Regions from separate parts of the Homo sapiens genome. Here regions 2, 3, 4 and 5 are each linked to region 1. Evidence: promoter capture Hi-C in 16 types of primary human blood cells and fetal thymus (Javierre and others, 2016). All regions are on one chromosome and are shown on one strand. The core of a region is centred on a gene start or on the middle of the fragment in contact, and the rest is flanking DNA. Distances in the headings are between cores, read along the strand shown. Region 1 holds the start of PCDH19 (protocadherin 19). Region 2 overlaps DIAPH2 (diaphanous related formin 2). Region 3 overlaps DIAPH2 (diaphanous related formin 2). Region 4 has its middle 700 kb from the start of MIR548M. Region 5 overlaps LOC105373294 (a long non-coding RNA gene).

Region 1 (3,659 bases), core at 304-2,803:
CGGGAGAAGTCCCGCCCAGGGCGGCCCGGCGGCGCGCGGGGGACACCCGCGGCGGCTCCAATGCTGAGGTTGCGGCGGACGCGGCGGGGGCTCGCGGGGGCCCCGGGGGCTCCGAGGGGCCAAGGGAGCGCCGCGCGGCCCCGAGCCCCCTCCCTCCAGCCCGGCTACTCAGTTTTACCCCTTCAAAGTTAGCCGGGCGCGACTGTCGGCAGCCGCCCAGGGCTGCGGGTCGGGCGGCGTCTGCGCGGCCTGGAGGACGCACCGCTGAGTCCGGACAGTACTTGAGGCGAAGGTAAAGAGGGCGGAGGAGGCGCAGCCTTTCAGGCACTGCCCGGCCCGCCGCGGTGCACCGGCACTGAGGCTGGCGAACTCGCTGTCTGTGCACCTGGCATGCGCAAAGACCTCCCCCCAGCGCTCCCAGTTCACTGCGGAGAGAGTACCCGCTTGGAATGCGCCCTCCGGGGTCTGGGGGGGCCACACTGGCCTCTTCGAGGCCTGTTCGGGAGAAAGGGGGTGTCGCAGACGGGAGTCAGTTACTGGCAAGCGCCGCGGGCACCCGGTTATAGGGTTGAGTCGGATGGCGGTCCCGGGGCCAGCAGAGGAAGGGGGAGGGGAGAGAGGCTGCCAGAGCTTGAGCGCGCTCCCTCGCGCTAAGGCTGGCTTCGAAGGGCTTGGGGGCGCGTCTGTCCAGGATCCGAGGTGGGAGCGGAGTTCCCCCCACAGAGCAGTTGAGGGTCTGCGGGCGTTTTCGTCTAGGAAATCAAAGTTAACAACGCAGTCCGACCCTCCACGTCAAGTTTGTGGAAACGGGGAGATGGCAATTTGTCCAAGAAAATCAAAGCCCCGGTCTTTCTAATGGCCGGGGGTGGCGGGGAATGGGGAAGAGGGAAGGGGAGGCAACAACAGTACCGGCCAGGAGAGGCGGGGCCGCCGCCGTGGGTACCGGGTGCTTCTCTTCTCTCCGTTTGGGCTGGGGTGTCGCTCCAAGGTCCGCCGCCGCCGCCGCCGCCGCCGCCGCCGCGGGAGGAAGCCCTCCTAGCTCAGTTGCACGTCGCTGGGGTCCGCCTCAGCAGCTGCCACAGTCGACGATTTTGTCGCCGCCGAAGTTTACTTGCAGGAGCGTCTTGATTTCATCTTCCCGGAGAGGCGCTGGCCGCGCTGCGTTGGGCTCCCTTCCTCCCGGGCGCTCGCGCACTCGGGAGGTCTGTCTCGCTTTCTCTGTCTGTCTCGGGCTGTGTGTGAATGTGTGAGAGAGAGAGGAAGAGTGAGTGTGTGGTGTGGGGAGTGTGAGTGTGGAGTATGAGCAAGCAGGAGGCAATGGGTTTGGGGTAGGAGGTTTAGGATTTCGGATGAAATCGCTCAGCCGGAATGCTGCGGAGCGCAACGCGCCAAGGGCCAGCGCCGGGCTAGGGACGCGGGTGCCAGTGCCTCCCGGGCAAGCCAGGCATGGTGCACGGGAGCTGTGCTGCCGTCTGTGCCCGCTCGTCCGTCTCCGCGCTGCGCCAGCCGCCGCCGCTACTGCTGCTGCTGCTCCTCCGGATGCCGCAAACTACTGGCCGCGGAGTCTGGAGAAAGCCGGAGAAAGCTCAAGCTGCCGAGCCCGGCTACGCCAGGCCCTGGCCAATCAGCGCGCCGCCAGCGGGCTCCAGTCTTGGGGCGGGGCCAAGCGGAGGCGGGGGGTAGCGGGGGGGCGGGGCCAAGCGGAAACTTCACACCGGCGGGACCAAGTGGTACCCCGGCCCATGGAGCCCTGGCGGGATTCATGGGAGGACGGACAGACAGGCCAGGCAGGCCAGGCAGGAGCAATAGGGCAGGAATGAGCAGGGAGGCGGTGTGCTGGCGCTGCGGCTGAGCCTCGCCGGGAACTGTGCGCTTCTCATGTTTGCAGAGATTTCAGGAAAGATGAGGATGATATGATTGTCTTATCGTGTTTACCTCCCTTACATATCTTCATATCTTGAATATAATATATACATATATATACACATATATATATATATACACACATATATATATCCCTCTATTTCTCCTTGTCTCTTCACCCTAAAAAATCGTCTGTTTTTGTTTTCCTCTCTTCTCATTCTCTGGTAGTGGAAGGAAGAAAGGGAAGGAGAAAGCGCCCCTGAGGTGGTCATTCATCCAGCTCTTAGCCGGTGTGTCTTCACATCAGGCCAGAGCCACGGCCGCCACCCCCCCGGACCGTCACCCCCATCCTTCCACCCCGGGCAGACGCCGCACTACTCTCTGCGTGCCGCACTCCCAGCAGGGCCCCTGGATCGGTTCGCTCTTGTCTGTTGCTTGTTAATCAAATGGGATATGTGGCACAGAGAATGAGCTACGGAGGGGGCCGGACACATTTCATTGCCCCTCACCCCACCCTGTTGGAGAATTTAGCTCCCTATAAATAAACTGTACGTTTGAGAAGAGCCGGTGGAGCGGACGCCGCCGCGCCGCGCCAAGCCAGCAGAGCTCAAAGCCGGGCAGGAGCTCTGGGGCGGGCACGCCATACATGTCCGCTTAGGTCGCCGACAGCTGGGAGCCGGCGCCGATGTGCAGGGCGCCCCAGCCTTCCCGCGGGGTCTCGGTCCCAGGGGGCTGCCAGCTCCACTTGGGCGGCGGTGGTGGCTGCGGCATGTGCCAGTACTGGGAAGCGGGAGGCCGGCGTGGCCAGGGCTGACATCAAGCTCATCCTGCCTTCTGCACTGAAGGCTCCCTGGGGGCAGCGGGGCATTCCTCCCCACCCGGGCTCTGAGGCTTTTAATTAAGGTCGCCAGCGGCAAAAAAATCAAAAACGTGCCCGTTAAACAAGTTTTTTTTTCTCTTAGAATGTGGGGAAGCTGCTTCTGAATTCACAATTCTTGGAAGAGTAAAAATGTCTTCTGAGTGAGTCGTCTCGGATATTTGGGAGTGGGATAAGCAGACTCATAATTAGCCCAGCGACATTGGCTCGAGCCTGTGGGCTTCACATGAGCGTCATTTTTGCCCTCTAAAAAGCGTTAAACAAGAAAAGGAAACCGGCATTTGGACACATAATGGGTTTTCTCAAAACTGCCATCTTCTTGTGGAGAGCAACCCAGCTGCTTTTTAAAATATTTTTCCTTCCAAGAAGAGCTACTTTAGCAGCCTTTACCTTGGCGGTGGGAGAGGGGAAAGGCGGCTTCCTCTTACAGAAAGAAATTATTTCGCGAGTGAGATTGCGATCCCCTGAATATGTAGCCGAGGCCAAAGGGAGAGCGTAGGGAGCCTGATCCGCTTTCCGCGTGGGGGTCGTTTCACTGTTTCACGTTAGGATGTGATTCGGCCCAGAACAACAGGGAGAAAACCGATGCTTCTGCAATGAGTATCATTTAATTTTGGTCATTTAGAGCTGCGGGTGGACACCAGAGTGGTGGCTCAAGGGAGCCCGGTGGCCCGACCGGTTTTCTCCAGACACCGTTGGAGAAATGGGCAAGTAGTAGAGAATGACAACATGGCAGGCAGCGGTGGGCGCACCTCGCGGGCTCCGCGAAAGGAAGGGTTCCATTTGATTTATCACAGTTATTTACCTTTGATGTCAGAGCATGGGAATGAAGTGCATCTTGGTCTAATTAAAAAGGCCTAAAAAGGCATTTGAAATGGGTTTGCTATCTGATCACGGGATGTGAATTCGGCGTTTGGCA
Region 2 (3,619 bases), core at 537-3,036, 3.6 Mb before region 1:
ATTGAAAGGACTTGTTGTTATTAGGAAACTGTGTGTTTTAGTGGAGTATTTTGCTCTGTTCTCTTCCTAATGCACTTCCAAATATAGTCTTAAGCTTTGATTTTTTTTTTTTTGGTAAGAAAAAATTGTATTTTTGAAATAGCAAAATGCATCTTTTACATTTCTGTAAAGAAAAAGCTTTTAATACCTAGAGTTCATAAAATCACTGTATGTGTGTATATGTGTGTATATATATGTATACACACACAGTGATATTTTGTGTGTATACATATGCATGTACACACACATACACTATTTAGGTCATGTGTTTTAAATTTCATAAGTTGACCATTGCAGAAAACAAGTCTTCATTGAAAAAATATATTCTAAAGTTATTTGGCTATCCTATTAATGCTATTTCAGTACAGCAATTCCAGTGGCAATTACTAATGCATTTTGCCATGAATTCTACGATTGTATTGATTCTATATTGTACTTGAAACAAGCTAAATCTGAATGCTGAGCTATTTAAACATAACACATTGCAGCTCCGCCATAGCAGAGCAACAGCATGTTTTTAAATTTGCTTCTGGTATCCAAGGGCAGAAATATGTTTCAAGTGATAAGTGAAATTTGCCATGAGCGTCGTTTTCAATAGAATTAGGTGATGCATAGGGTTTTACTTTGAAATTCTGATGAATCTCTTCTCATTTTTGCACTCAAGTTATTGTTCACCATAAAATGCTTTAGGAAATGCAGGATGTACATTCAATGTTATTTTTCAAAGACCTAAAGGCTGATACACTAGTAAATCTATATGACTGAATCTGAGTGCAAAGTACAGATAATAACATATGAATAATCATGTGGTGGTTTTAATGATAAGATTTTGTTAGAGTCTCTGGCTCATTTGTTGTTGTTTGTGTAAGTGGGACTGAATATAATGATTATATGAAACTCTTATTCCTTGACCTTTTGAGTATTACATGATTTCTGTGCAGAACTTGTTTTCATTTATTCTCATATTATTTCCTCTTCAAGTGACCAAAGAAATGCACACTTCAAGTTATATACTGATTTTTCAGATTAAAATGCAAAAAATTGGATAAATATTAGATGAGCTCACTTGAACTGCATTATTCAAAAGATGGAAATTCAATGTTCCTCAAAAGACATGAAAATTCTATGTTTAAGGCATTAGCCTCAAAATCAGAACTACTTAAGGGCCCTTATTTGTTTCATTCAGTGTACATATGAGCACCTGAAATATGCACAGCACTCTGATAAGATTTCCAGGATTATACATATTTTTGCTAATATTTTTCGTGGGCCAGATACTATGATGGAAGAAAGCCTGTTGACAAGCATTTTTGAAGCTTTCTCATCTTGGAAAGACGTTAATTAGTACTATGTTTTCTATCATTAAAACCACAAAAATTAGTTATGTAATTTCCTTTTGAAGGTGAGAGGGTTGGCCTTCAGTGACAAACAATAATCTAACCTTTTTACCTTTTCATTATCACAGCACTAAAGTTTGCATTTAGAGTAGACATGATAGTTACCACTACTTTATGAAAATGCTTTCTAGTTAGTCACAGCTTTCATCTTGAGGTAGCAAAGTTAAGAGCTAGAGTCCCTGGTGGAGAAATGTTTTATAGTCACATGTAAAACATGTGAGAATTGTAGTGAAATTTAAACGTAAATCATACATTTTCCCCGTTTAACACCTGCATTAATCATTTTGTATGGGATCTAAAACCAGATTTTAGATAGAAATGTCTATCATGCTCCTGGGTTCTTGAGTAAGGACATAAAAGTAAAATGAAGCTATACACCAATATGTGGTCAAAACTCGTTTCTAAAGCAAACAAGAGTCTTTTGTCGTATAATTAACTTTGCTAAAATTAGCATGGAAAAGGAGACTATAAAGGAAACCATAAGATAATAATAAAAACTATTGCTTAGTTTTTTCTTCTCGAAGTCCCATAATAGAGAATGTTAAATTGTGTGAATGTTAAAGGAAAAAGTTTGAATAACTCTGTCCATGATGAATGAACTTTAAATAGAGGGATGGAGAAGAACCTTCTTTCTGCATTTTATCCTCCATTGTTCATTGTAGGAAGCGTAGTTATGGATCTGACGTAGGGTAATAGGAATATGTAGATAATTTGACCACAAATAACCTGGAAGAGTCTATATTTTCAAAACACCAGCATATGTTTTCAGAAAATGGAAAACCAAGCTTTGTTAATATTGCAAAAGTTGTCCTACCGATTGGTAATCCTGAAACAATATGTTGGTAATTTAGAGGGGATCTCACGGGCACTTAACAGCACATATAGACATTTATGAGGAAAAGTTATTCACCGAAGTCCCAACGTTAGTTTGTCAAATGCCAGTGTCATTCCTAGAATGTTAAGGGATTGGTTTATTTTGAATTTAAATCATAATCTTTGAAATTTTAAAATATGTAAAGTTATATTTTTTAAGACATGTGAACCATTGAGAGGCAGCATTGGTTTTTTTTTTTTTAATCTCAGTAGGAAATAATTTAAAATAGTGGTGCTAGCTACATCTGCAGATTTGTTAGACTGACCTGTATAATGAGTAGTTAAAAGTTGCAGTATATCTATATGTGTATGTGTATACATGTATTATGGTTTTGCTTTTGTCATTATCAGATACTCTTTCAGCTCTTTTCCAGGTATGATCTGGATATGATCAAACAGTTGAACCCAGACATGGCCAAAATATTTTCTCTTAGCTTCTGTTGGGTACTAAATCTTATCTATTGCCGTTTGTGCTTTAGCTAAATGCAGTTATTTTGCAATGCAAATGAATCATTAAATGGGCCATATTCTGGTTGTTTCACTGAGTATAGACCTGCTTTAATTGTTAACGCAGGCTCACATTCTTTTGTTAGTCTCATGTCTGTGCTAAATAAACAAGGGACAAATACGACCTCTGTCTTTTCGGTGGGAGGAAATAATTGAGGTCAATAGCATATCTTTTAATTCAGAAGACTGTTAATGGCACCAAAGAGGCTTTTATTCAACTAAATAATCACTGCTTGTAAATAGTCTACTGAATGAATATTTAAGAAAGCTGCTTCTGTATTCTGAGATTCATGGATTCTTCTGAAATAATTTACTTGGAAACTGTCATTATCTTTTTGTATTTTATGATATCCTTTTCAACATAGGATTCTTACTGGGGTTTCAGTTAAATTTGATTTTTATTTTTAAAGCACTAGCTGAAAAATAGAACACATTTTGATAATAACTGCTATCGGATTAATGGTTTTGTATTGTGGCTTAGCTGTTTTTTGGACACTGCTTGATATTCAAGTGTGGGAATCTGATAACAGTGATTTGATTTATATTTGGATTTTTGGATAAAATTATGTTTAGGACTATGAGTTTACTTCCTGCTTTCTTAAACACAATTCTGCCTCTCAGAAATTCTTTTATCACTTATCCATTAGGAAAGCTCAGTTGGAGCTGCAATTTTTGAACTATTTCCTCCTTCTGAACATGTGCATGTTTAGATGTAAAATGCTTCTTTGTCTTCACATTATGTAGAAAATTCTGATCTTATAATAGAAATGCTAGGATTACCTAGAAAACTAGAATAATAAGTA
Region 3 (3,752 bases), core at 765-3,264, 3.4 Mb before region 1:
CGACTGGCAGTCTGTGAGGTGTGTCACGGGCCTCCATCATGGTGGTGGGTATGAAGCTGTGCACTACTTCTGTTTTTAACACCTTCCTTGGAGCTGCCTGAAGAAAATTGCAGGAATTTTTTAGGCACATCTACTGGAAAGTGCTTATTTTAATATTTGTCAACATAATTACCAGAAAACATTAACCCTGAAGTGTGTCTCTCAATACAAACTTGATAATCACTAAATATTTTTAATATAGGCCTTTGAGGAAAACATCGTAAATATCATTAGTCTTATTTTTCTCTATGAATTTTATTTACTATACATTAGTTGTTTAGAATTATCTTTTTTCTCCTTTGTTTGATGGTAGTGAGAGAAGAACACTACTTTTTGGAAGATTATAAATAGTACATTAAGTGAAAGGTCATAAATACTGTAAAACTTCAATAAAGCACTGGGCAACAACATGAATTCACATATGCATTGAATGGGGAGGAAGAGTTAGGAAGTGACCCTCAAGAATTTGGGACCTTCTTTGTTCATTTTACAGTCATATATGTTCAATGTAAGTTCCACTGTCCTTGTTTTAATGCTTTCATGAGATGATATAGATAAATTGAAATATATGGTTTTTAACTAAATTCAAGATAACACAAGTCTCCATTTTATGTAATTTAATTTTTTAGACTCCACCTGTGATCTTATGGCGCAGCTCGATGGCAGTTGGAGGTGCAAGTGATTCCCAATAATGAATCACCTTTCAAATGTTTCAATGATGATGTGATAGAAAAGACAGCTGCAGTAGTGTGACTTAAAAAGAAATTACCTGACTGCCCTTTTTTCCCAATTACTGGCACAATCTTCATGAAATCCAAATAAACTTAATAGAAGGAGGAAAAGCCATGTGAGTGGAGCTGACCTGCCACAAATTAATTATACTTAGTACTTTGTGCCAGCATGGCATGGTGGAGAGCCAGGACTCGAGAGAAACACATAAATATAGCAGGATCTTAGTTGCCTAGGTGAGCAAGGAAATTGCTGCTTGCAAAACATGTTGGAAGTTATTAGTTAGCATAAGATGTTTTAGCATTTGCATTTATTAATCTGACTTATGCATTTAAAATATGTTTCTGTATTTTACAAGACCAGATCTGGAGGAGGCTAAATGCCCCAAGTTTCCTTTCACACCAACATCATATGCTCATATATATTCAGTTGATTAATTATTTTAAATAAAGTGCAGCTGTCTTGTCATGTTAACAGGCCTCTAATTTTATTTGCCTATTCATATGTGAAACAGGAGAGGCTAGCATCTTAAAAATTCAGTGTAAAAGTTTATATGTACATGTTTATTTTATAACATTTTGGGGTGATTTTTAAAAATTATTTTTCAGACATTGTCAAATAAGGTAGTAAAACAAGATTCAGGTATTATTGGTTCTTCATTTTTATTTTTATGAGAAGTACTGCATTTGCTTTGCTGCTATTGCGACAGCATTGCCAGTAGACCAACATATACCACATATACTTTTGCTTTTAAATCCTGCTTAAGATACATTGATTTTAATAGAGGAAATTAGTGATATATTAAAAACCCATGAGCTTAATTAGCCATTCACGAATGACTAGTGCTATATTCTATTTGTTATTGTTTTAATTAACAGACTACTTTTTAAAGAGCATTTTAGGTTTACTGGAAAATTGCATGGAAAGTCCTATGTATATGCTCATCTCCTCCCTGCTCTCCAGTTTCCCCTATTATTATCTTGTATTAGTGTGGTACATTTTTTACACAATAATCAATATTGGTACATTACTAAAGTCCATAGTTCAGAGTTTACTCTCTGTGTTATATAGTTCTATGTGTTTTGACACATCATGTATCTACCATTTTAGTATCTTACAGATGGGTTTCACTGCCCTAAAAATCTTCCGTGCCCTACCTATTCATGCCTTCATTCCTCCCTCCAAACCCCTGACAACCACTGGTCATTTTTCTGTCTTCATGGTTTTGCCTAAATCTTTCCGGATTCTTTCACTGAGCTTCTGCTTCTTTCACTGAGCATTTAAGGTTGTTCCATGTCTTCCAATGGCTTGAAATCTCATTTCTTTTATCGTTGAATAACATTCCACCGTGTGGATGTACCAGCACCTACCAAAGGACATCTTGGTTGCTTCTAAGTTTTAGTAATTATGAATAAAGCTGCCATAACCGTTTGTGCTCAGGTTTTTCCTGTGTGTGTGGATATAAGTTTTAAACTCATTTGGATAAATACTAAGGAGTATGACTGCTCAATCATGGTAAGAGTATGTTTATTTTTATATGGCTGGTGCTACTTTATCCCTATCCCTCCAGTTTTATTTTGTTTTGTTTTTTGATATCGGATTAATAGAATTGAACTAATCACAATCCCTTTGTTCTTAACCCACTCTTATCATTGATTTGAGGGTGACTTTTTATTTAATTAGTTATTTATGATAATATAGTAAGTACTTCTGACCTCACCACCCAATACAAAATCTAGATCCTTGACAATCACATATTTCTTAAGTGTGTGTACTCCTTTGCATATTCCTTGCCTCCCCTAACCTGAGGCCAGTGCTATTTTAGTTTTAAATTTAATAATGTTTCCATATATATATTCTACATATATGGATGGAATTCTAATATATATACGGAATATATATATTCTAAGAGTTCAATGATTATTTAAGACATACTTCTCTAGAATAATCATCCAAATAATTTAAAACAAGATTTTGCCTCTGAATATGTAATAGGCATTAATAGATTTTCACTTGGATTTTCTAACATTAGTTTTTATCCATTTTGATGCCATTCCTAGTATTAATGATAAATTTTTCATTGGCAATATAAAAAGAAAGTCTTCTGCTAAAAAAACTAAGGCTGTTAGTGAAGTTATAAAAATCACAAAAGACTAGGATTGTCGCATCATTATGTGAAACAGATCCTTGGGGGAATACATCAGATTGTAATGCCACGACTCCTGTATTTTAAATCTACCTGCACCCTAAAGCTAATGGCAATAATGCCATTTCAACTGAAACATCAACTGGATTAAAAAAAATCCTAAAGGACAAGGAAAATTCAAGCTCTTGGCTATGCAGTGCTGCAGTTGACCCATTCACTTCTCTGTTCAGGTAATCTAGTTAACACAGGCTTCAGTATCAATTCATTTTAACAAAGGATGGTTAATGTCATTGTTTGTAACATTTTCTAGTGAGAATAAACCTGAAGCATACTATATAAATAAGCCCTTGCTTGCGCTGACTCAGGAACACAATTCTTAATTTACTTAGTGCTCTCTGCAGCTACTTGTGTATGTGTGTGCATGTGTGTGTGCATGTAGGTATATCTTATGGAACTTGCTTCTAATTAACAATACATTAGTCCTCGCTACTTCTAATTAGCAATGCGGTAGCCCTGCCTTATCCACAGGGGGATATAAAACCCACAATGAAACTGCGGATAGTACCGAACTCTGTAAATACTATGTTTTTTTCAAATACGTATGTATTTACAACAAAGTTTAATTTGTAAATTAGCCATAGTAAGAAACTAACAGCTATAATAATAAAGTAGAACAATAAAAACAGTATGCCAGCATCACTACTCTTGTGCATTAGGGCCGTTATAAAATAGGGTTACTTGAACACTAGCATGTTACCTCTACAGTTGATTTGATAACCAAGACAACTACTAAGCGACTAATGGATGAGTAGCATACACATTGTGGATATGCTGGATG
Region 4 (3,881 bases), core at 721-3,220, 4.6 Mb before region 1:
TTTACAGTTAACTCTTTTCTAAATAAGGAGTACACTCTAATCATAAAGGTATAGTATAGTATAGTATAGTATTAATAGTAATAAATACATTAACCTGTAATGTAATCGTTTATTATCATTATCAAGTATTGTACACTGTACATAATTGTATGTGCTGTCCTTCTATATGAATAGCAGCACAGTAGGTTTGTTCACACTGACATCACCATAAGTACATGGCAATGTTTTGTACTATGACATTTTGACAGCTACAATGCCACCAGGCAACAGGAATTTTTCAGCTTCATTATAATCTTAAGGAACCACTATCACATATGTGATTTGTCATTGACCCAAACATTATGGGCTGTATGACTGTATTTGCATTTGTTTTAATGACAAGTAAAAACTCTTCAAAAGTAGAATTCTTATTTTAAATATATTTCTATCTTCTTCAGTGCCTAACACAAGCTCTTGCACATGTGATATTTTAGAGTTTTATAGTTGAGCCCTATTTATTTCCTAAAGGATTTGAAGAAACTATCTGTTTTTGATAGAATGATTGTGTCCCTCCAAAATTCATATGTTGAAGCCCTAACTCCCAGTGTGATGGTATTTGGAGATGGGGCCTTCCAGAGGTAATTAGGATGAGATGAGGTCATGACAGTAGAGCCCCCTAGTGCCCTTATAAGAAGAGACACCAGAACTCGCTCTTTCACTCTGTTTCTCTCTCTCTCTCTCTCTCTCTCTGTCTTCTCTCTGTTTCTGCACATGCACAAAGAAAGGGGTCATGTGAGCACACAACCTACAAACCAAGAGGCCTCAGGATGTAATCTGTTTTGTTGGCACCCTGACCTTGGACATTCCAGCCTCCAGAACTACGAGAAATAAATTTCTGTTGTTTAAGCCTCCCAGTCTGTTACGGCAGCCTGAGGTGACTAAAACCTATCAAAATAAAGTGTAATGCAATTCATGATAATTAATATGATAAACAGAATAGGGATCATCAAAGAGATCTGGAGAAACTTAATGTTCTTGGGTACCTGAGATATATTAGTTACTACTGTTTGGGACTGACATTTTCTTCATTTTCTAGCTACTAAGACACAATGGGAAACATGCTGGATTACATAGTATTGATGATTTGAAAAAAAAAAGCAAACATTCTACTCATTTTAAAACTTTGTCTAGAATGATAACACCAAAATATAGAAGCTAGGTGGAAAAGCCTCAGGAGCCAGCCCAAGGGTTATGATTAAATACATCAATCCAATAGAAGGCCTAAGGTGTGGGTGGCATTTGAATAAGAGCCATTAAGTCACCCACAGAAACAAGTTTTCACCCTCTCTCACTTTGAAAAGGTGTCCTATGTCTAGTCGAATAAGCATCAACCTTCACTGTTGGAAAGGTCCAATAGTTCAAAAATAACTTTTACCAATTTTGCTGAAATGCCTAAATGTCCACTTAAGATTGGAGGGAAACTGTCTCCAATAATTTACCATTAAGATGCAGATTAAACTTCTCATTTAATAAATGTCAAAAACTTTTAAAAATGTTTCAGTATGCATGGAAGTTTATTTTATGCAGTGACAACTGATATGAGAAAATATTTGGGAAATTTTTTATAAAAAGAAAATTTAAATGAATGTTGCAATATTCTTTTAGGATTGTGAGCTATGCACTAATTTTGAACACAAAAAAACTTTTTGTCTTGCAGTAAGTAGCCAGTGAACATATTTTTGTTTATTTTAGAATTTTTTTAGAATTATAGAATACAAGTTTTTCATGTTCTGGACATCTATCACCATTTGACTTCGACTAAACTGTAAATGGTATAGGAAATTGGGCTGATTGCTTATTGATATCTGTCATGACATACCCTGAGATTTTCTTTCTTGATTAAACCCTTACTATCACAAAGCTGTCTGCTAACTTGCCTCTTTCTTCTAAAAATTGAGTATGGATACTACAATGGTAGACAGATAACATTGTACATTTATCCAAACCCTTCAAATGTATAATAAATACCAAGAGTGAACCCTAAGGTCAAATATGAACTTTGAGTGATTACAATATGTCAGTGTAGGTTCACCAATTTTAACAAACCACTCTGGTGGGGAATGTTGATGACAGAGGAGGCTATGCACGTGTGGAAGGCAGGGAGTATATGGGAAATCTGTATCTTTCTCTCAACTTTTTTGTGAACCTGAAACTGCTCTACAAAATAAAATGTTCCTAAAAAATGGATAGAGAAAAATGAATTTCAATGTGTGAATGTTTTTGATTAACTATACTCAAATTAATTGGTGTGTTATTGCTTCACGAGAAACAATACATAGGGAAAGAAAAAGGCAGACCCAAAATATTTTTTTAAATTAAAATCAGTGTCCAATTCACAATCATAAACAAATACTGCAATACTCAATTAATTGCCTTCTTTCAAAATTCTTTCCAAAAGTTTCCACAAACTAGTTGTCACTGTATAAAAGAAGTTGCTATATGTACAATGGTAACCATGTTATCCTTCATATTATCTGCATAATGCATGCTTAATTCATTCTTGTGCAAAACATAATTGGAATGTAGCAAAATTTAGCCTCTCCAAAGCATCATTATTATATGAAATGCATACAGTCAAAGCATAGATACTGCCACAGTGGGGGAAAAAAGGAAGAAAATAAAGAGAAAAATAGAATTTGGTTGCTATTATTTGAGGATTGCATGACCACTAAATCCGTCATAAATAGTTTTAAATAAACTGTGTGACTTACAGAATCCTAGCCTTCCTAGTTTGTGTCCCTACTTTATGGCCAAAAGGTGGCACTGTTCCATTTATTATGAGTTTGGCATCTAGTCCATGGTGCTGTAGTCAGTCACTCTGTAATGTTCACTGAAACTAGCAAGGCGTTCATCATTAACCATTCTGCTTCACAGGCCCTGATATCAAAAGGATCATACCAGCAGCTACTCTGACATAACTCATTAAGAAACTGTTGTAAATAAGAATCTTGTAGAAAAGCATAGCGGCAGGTTAAATCAGCTCCCCTACCTTGGAAGGAAACTAAATCCTTGTGGCTGACCTGCTGTTGGGAAGAAATAAATTACTATTTGCATCACAAAGGATGGAGGCATTCCACCAAGCAGGGAGACAGCTACAGTTAAGACTCTGTGGCATTTGATTCACTTTTCTCTCCAAGCCCCATCCAAGCAAGGTGATTTATTCTCATGAGCAATGACTGAAATGTTTACTTATTCACCTGGTCAGGCAGCCAGCCACATGCACATCTTAAACAGCTATGGGAAAATGATTTTAACTGACCTTAGAGGATCCTGATTAAAAGCAAGACAGGTGTCTAACTTTCTGAAACAAATTAGCTAAATGAAAAAAAGAAAAACCTAACTGGAGACTTTACCCAGTGTCTCATCAGCATGCAACAACAGTTCTTTATGGTTTAAATCAAACAAGAAAAAGAAGATCCTAATACAAATGCAGAAGCGATCAGTGAAATGTCCCATCGCCTACTACACAGTCAGCAGCAGGGGATAGAGAAAGGGGTTGTTCAATATCTCTTCTTTTTGGTAGAAACATGATGGCTATGAATGAAGAAGTAAGATGCAGCTCCCTAAGCATTATACTCTACAAAATACTAACAGTATACTAAACATAACAGCATTCCATTTTAACAGCTTGTATTTATGTTAAATTTTTCCCCATCTCATAGATTCATTTTAAGTTTTAAACCTGGCTGTAACAAAGGATGGCAACAGAGTTGTTTACACTGTAAAGATATATTTAATCTTTATTTCTTTGTCAGTAATTACATTCTGAGGTCAAAACACAATGGAATAATTACCTGAGTAACATTAGGCAAAAATGAAAAAAAAAAACAGAATCTGCATTA
Region 5 (3,622 bases), core at 352-2,851, 4.0 Mb before region 1:
AACACTTCTCTAATGAGGAGTACTGCACAGGTATAAACTGTATTGCTTCAAACCTATGTCATGGCTCAAAAAAGGTACCATACTGTATGCTCAAAGGCACTGAAATAAAATGAAAACACAAATATATTCCAAGTCACGTAGTTGCAGAGGGATGAAATGAAACCACTGCTGCACTAGTATGTGGATTAATGTTGTCTTTTGCTGTCAATTCCAGCAAACACTACATCAAATTTGTAGCTAGGGCTGATTCATGTTATAATGTTCACTCTCAGATCTTTGTCTCCAGAAAGCCTACTCCACAGTTTATGAAGCTGGATAGACAAGAGTTATGCATAACCTCAGAAAAGCTAAGGGGCATCACATTCACTGGTATGGATCAGTGGTCAAATAGTTAATTATTTTGCTCACAGCAAAGAAGGAAGATTTTTCCATTTGAAGATTTTTTTACCCTATATACAACAGATTTGGGGAATGTACTGTATACTGTGCATCAGTTGGTTTAAAAAAATTACTGCAATCAACCTCCTAAAAACAGACATTGCAAAGGCTTATTACATTATTTTTAATACTTCTAAAATTCTATAAGAGAACAGATACAGTTCAGTTAAAAACAAACTCAAAATCCTAGGAGTATGAATCATTAAACATGCATACATAATGCCCAGACATCCCCTGAAAACATTGGGATTAAAGAAAAGAGGCTATGGTTTCTATAGAGAAATGCAAAAATCAAAAACACTTTTATCTGAAGTACAGGCTACCAGAAGCATAGGCTTAAGGGATCCTAAAGCAGCATAAATCAGCCAGGCAGACTGAAACCAACTGACCTACCTGTCAGGACCAAAGCAGAAGGCACTGCCGAGATCTATGGGGGAAAGGGGGAAGTGCATGGGGCCAACAGCATGCCACAGTAAATGCACTGTCGTCCTGCTGCACTGCAATTGCAGAATGGAGCTCAGGAAGACGGAGAAAGATGTTTGCTGCTCATCCACTTAAATATTAAGAAGTAGCCAAATAGTTCTCATCTTAGCCCTATGCTTGGCTACCAAGGAATGCCGTGGTGTATATCAATACCCATGGGTTACATCTCCGAAAATAACCCCAGTTGCTTCTCACAGAGGCTGAATAGACCTTTTAGAAACTTTGGGCCCAGCTATAAACCTTAAAAAAGGTAAAAATTTAAACTATATATATTTCCTACAAAGGGTTTATGTTTCGTTTGGTGGTGGTTCCTGTTGTTTCTAGCAGTAATAACTCGGCTGCAGTAATCCTGCAGCCAAGAAATTTTGCAACCTTCCCACTAGGAGGAGCTACAGGAACACAAGGATCAAGATTTGAAATGCTAGGGCTCTGGTTGTCAGGCTATAGTTTATGAGAAAACTATTTTCCAATTTACTTCAAGTAAGCGCTGGTCAGAACTATTTTAGAGCCCCACAAATGCAATCCAACTAATTTCAACCAATACCGTTTAAGCACCTACTGTGAGCAAGGCTCATTGCTAGATGTAATGAGGGACATGAAGATAAGTGACCCACAATACCTGCTCTCAAGTAGCTCATAAATTAGTGGTGGGGAGAGGGGGAAGGAAGGACAGGTGGCTACAACATATTCAGAACTACCTGTATTACAGCATGGAGTGTGATAAACTGCACAATGACGAATCTGAAAATAAAGCGACATTGTATTGATAAGGAGGATAAATCATACTTGGGTTGGGGGAAAAGTAGGAATTAGGAAATAGTCTCATGGACACCCTCAGCACTGTGAGTGATGGGAAGCATGCAAGTGCTTATTATATAATCTCAGAAATAGAAACCATTCAAGAGTTTAGGACCTTCTTTTGCTAGGTGGTTTCCGAATGCCCAAAAATAAAACAGATGGTCTCTGCCAATGATAGAAAGTTTCCATATGGCAGGTGCTTGGCTCCAGTGGATGCCTTGAGAGGAGGCCCATTGCCCCACACATTGTGTCCTCCACAATGAAATAGAGAAAACCATGACTTATATGACTATGATGTTTAATTGTATGTGTCATCTTGGAAGGTGTTTCTGAATCAAGTTAACATTTAAATCAGTGAACTGTGCATAAAGCAGACTGATCCTTGTAATGTGGGTGGGCCTCTTCCAATCCGTTGAAGGCCTCAATAGAACAAAAAGACTGGCCTGCCCAAACAAGAATGAATTATCCAGCACACTGCTTTCAGATTTTATGTGCACCATCAGCTTTCCTGGGTCTCTAGGCTGCCAGCCTTCCTACTGGAACTGGAATATCAGCTCTCCTAGGTCTCAATCCAGCTGGCCCACACTCTAAATTTTAGGCTTGCCATCCTCCATAATCATGTGAGTTAATTCTTTTCCTAATAGGATGTGTATGCATATAGAAAAAAATTTTTCTATATGCATACATATCCTAAGGAAAAGAATCTTATTGTCTCTGTTTCTCTGGAGAATCTTGACTAATACAAAGACTTTCTGGCATGCAGCTCATATTTGTGTATAAGAGTATTATATGATAATAAAGTATAGTAACTACAGTCTCTCATCATATGTGGTTCTTACTATGAAACCAGCTAAACAGAAATATTTCTCTGTTGATCTTAGTCCCCCAAGAGTGGAAGAGTATATCTTGGACCACAAGTCAGCCACATTGCCCCTCTGTCCCTCTTCCTGCCCAAACATTCATCTCCCCTTTATATATGGGCAAAGGACTACCCTTGCAGAGGGTTAATGTCAAAGATCTCATCTGTCCTTCTTGCAATTTTCCAAGAAATGTGGCTACCATATAACATATAGGTCCTCTTTTCAATAATGAAAATGCTTCTTTATGAAAAAAGCCTGCATTTTCTCTTGCATTGTCCTGGATATGCAAAATAAATAGATGCAATAAGTCAATTCACTAAATTTAGGCATTTTGTGACATATTCATTTTGTGGGCATGTGAAAGAATGTGTATATTTCATGCAGAGAAGAACAAGACATGAAGAAGCAGTAGGAATGGCGATTGTGGATGTGGCTCTAGAGTCGCATAGCCATGAGGACCATTGCCTTCTTTAAAAGTTATCTCTGGCTTCTTCTTCCTATTTTTCTAACCATTTTGTCAAGGTAGAATTGACATATAAAAAGCTGTACATATTTAATGTCTACATCTCAATGAATTTGGGGACAAATATATACCCATGGAACTATCACCACCATCAAGACCATAAAAATATTCATTATCTCCAAGTTTCCTCCCTGCTCCTTTATTATTATTGTGCTGTGGAGTTTTTCATTTGTTTGGGGAGGTTTTCTTCTGGTAAGATCACTAAGATCTATCCTCTTAGCAAATTTTAAATATACAATATAGTACTGTCAGCTACAGGCACTATGCCGTATAGTAGATCTCCAGAATTTATTTATCTTGCATAACTGAAACCTTTAACCATCCACTGGAGAATAAGGTCCTGCTCCTTCCCTCAGGTGCCTTCTCTGTGCTGTACCATGTTTCTCAAAGTGTGAAATATAGGTAGATACCTCAGACCACAAAAGCTCCAAGGTTCCAGGGCTCAAACTCAGATCTACTGAATCTGAATCTTGAAGCATGGGCCCCAAGAATCTACATTTTTTAACATACCACTCACATA

The links. Contacts are between HindIII fragments. The CHiCAGO score rates a contact against its expected background, and 5 or more counts as called.
Region 2: a fragment that was not itself captured here is called in contact with the fragment with the promoter of PCDH19 in region 1 in 3 of 17 cell types (total B cells, naive CD4 T cells and naive CD8 T cells); the score reaches 6.1 in total B cells.
Region 3: a contact is called between a fragment that was not itself captured here and the fragment with the promoter of PCDH19 in region 1, in 1 of 17 cell types (endothelial precursors). The highest score is 6.1, in endothelial precursors.
Region 4: a fragment that was not itself captured here is called in contact with the fragment with the promoter of PCDH19 in region 1 in 1 of 17 cell types (M0 macrophages); the score reaches 5.6 in M0 macrophages.
Region 5: a contact is called between a fragment that was not itself captured here and the fragment with the promoter of PCDH19 in region 1, in 1 of 17 cell types (naive CD8 T cells). The highest score is 5.7, in naive CD8 T cells.

Annotation. Positions count from the first base shown.
Region 1 is chrX:100,408,720-100,412,378 of GRCh38, forward strand. PCDH19 (protocadherin 19) reads right to left here and starts at 1,554. Exons shown (of 6, transcript NM_001184880.2): 1 at 1-1,554. The HindIII fragment of the contact is 4,339 bases long and covers 1-3,659 here.
Region 2 is chrX:96,758,847-96,762,465 of GRCh38, forward strand. The region is part of intron 4 of DIAPH2 (diaphanous related formin 2); the gene reads left to right. Among named protein-coding and RNA genes, the nearest start is that of DIAPH2, 76 kb to the left of the region's middle. The HindIII fragment of the contact is 866 bases long and covers 1,354-2,219 here.
Region 3 is chrX:97,016,975-97,020,726 of GRCh38, forward strand. All of the region lies in intron 17 of DIAPH2 (diaphanous related formin 2), which reads left to right. Among named protein-coding and RNA genes, the nearest start is that of RPA4, 130 kb to the left of the region's middle. The HindIII fragment of the contact is 6,977 bases long and covers 1-3,752 here.
Region 4 is chrX:95,762,264-95,766,144 of GRCh38, forward strand. No RefSeq gene overlaps it. Among named protein-coding and RNA genes, the nearest start is that of MIR548M, 700 kb to the left of the region's middle. The HindIII fragment of the contact is 4,443 bases long and covers 1-3,881 here.
Region 5 is chrX:96,371,647-96,375,268 of GRCh38, forward strand. All of the region lies in intron 1 of LOC105373294 (a long non-coding RNA gene), which reads right to left. Among named protein-coding and RNA genes, the nearest start is that of DIAPH2, 310 kb to the right of the region's middle. The HindIII fragment of the contact is 4,195 bases long and covers 1-3,622 here.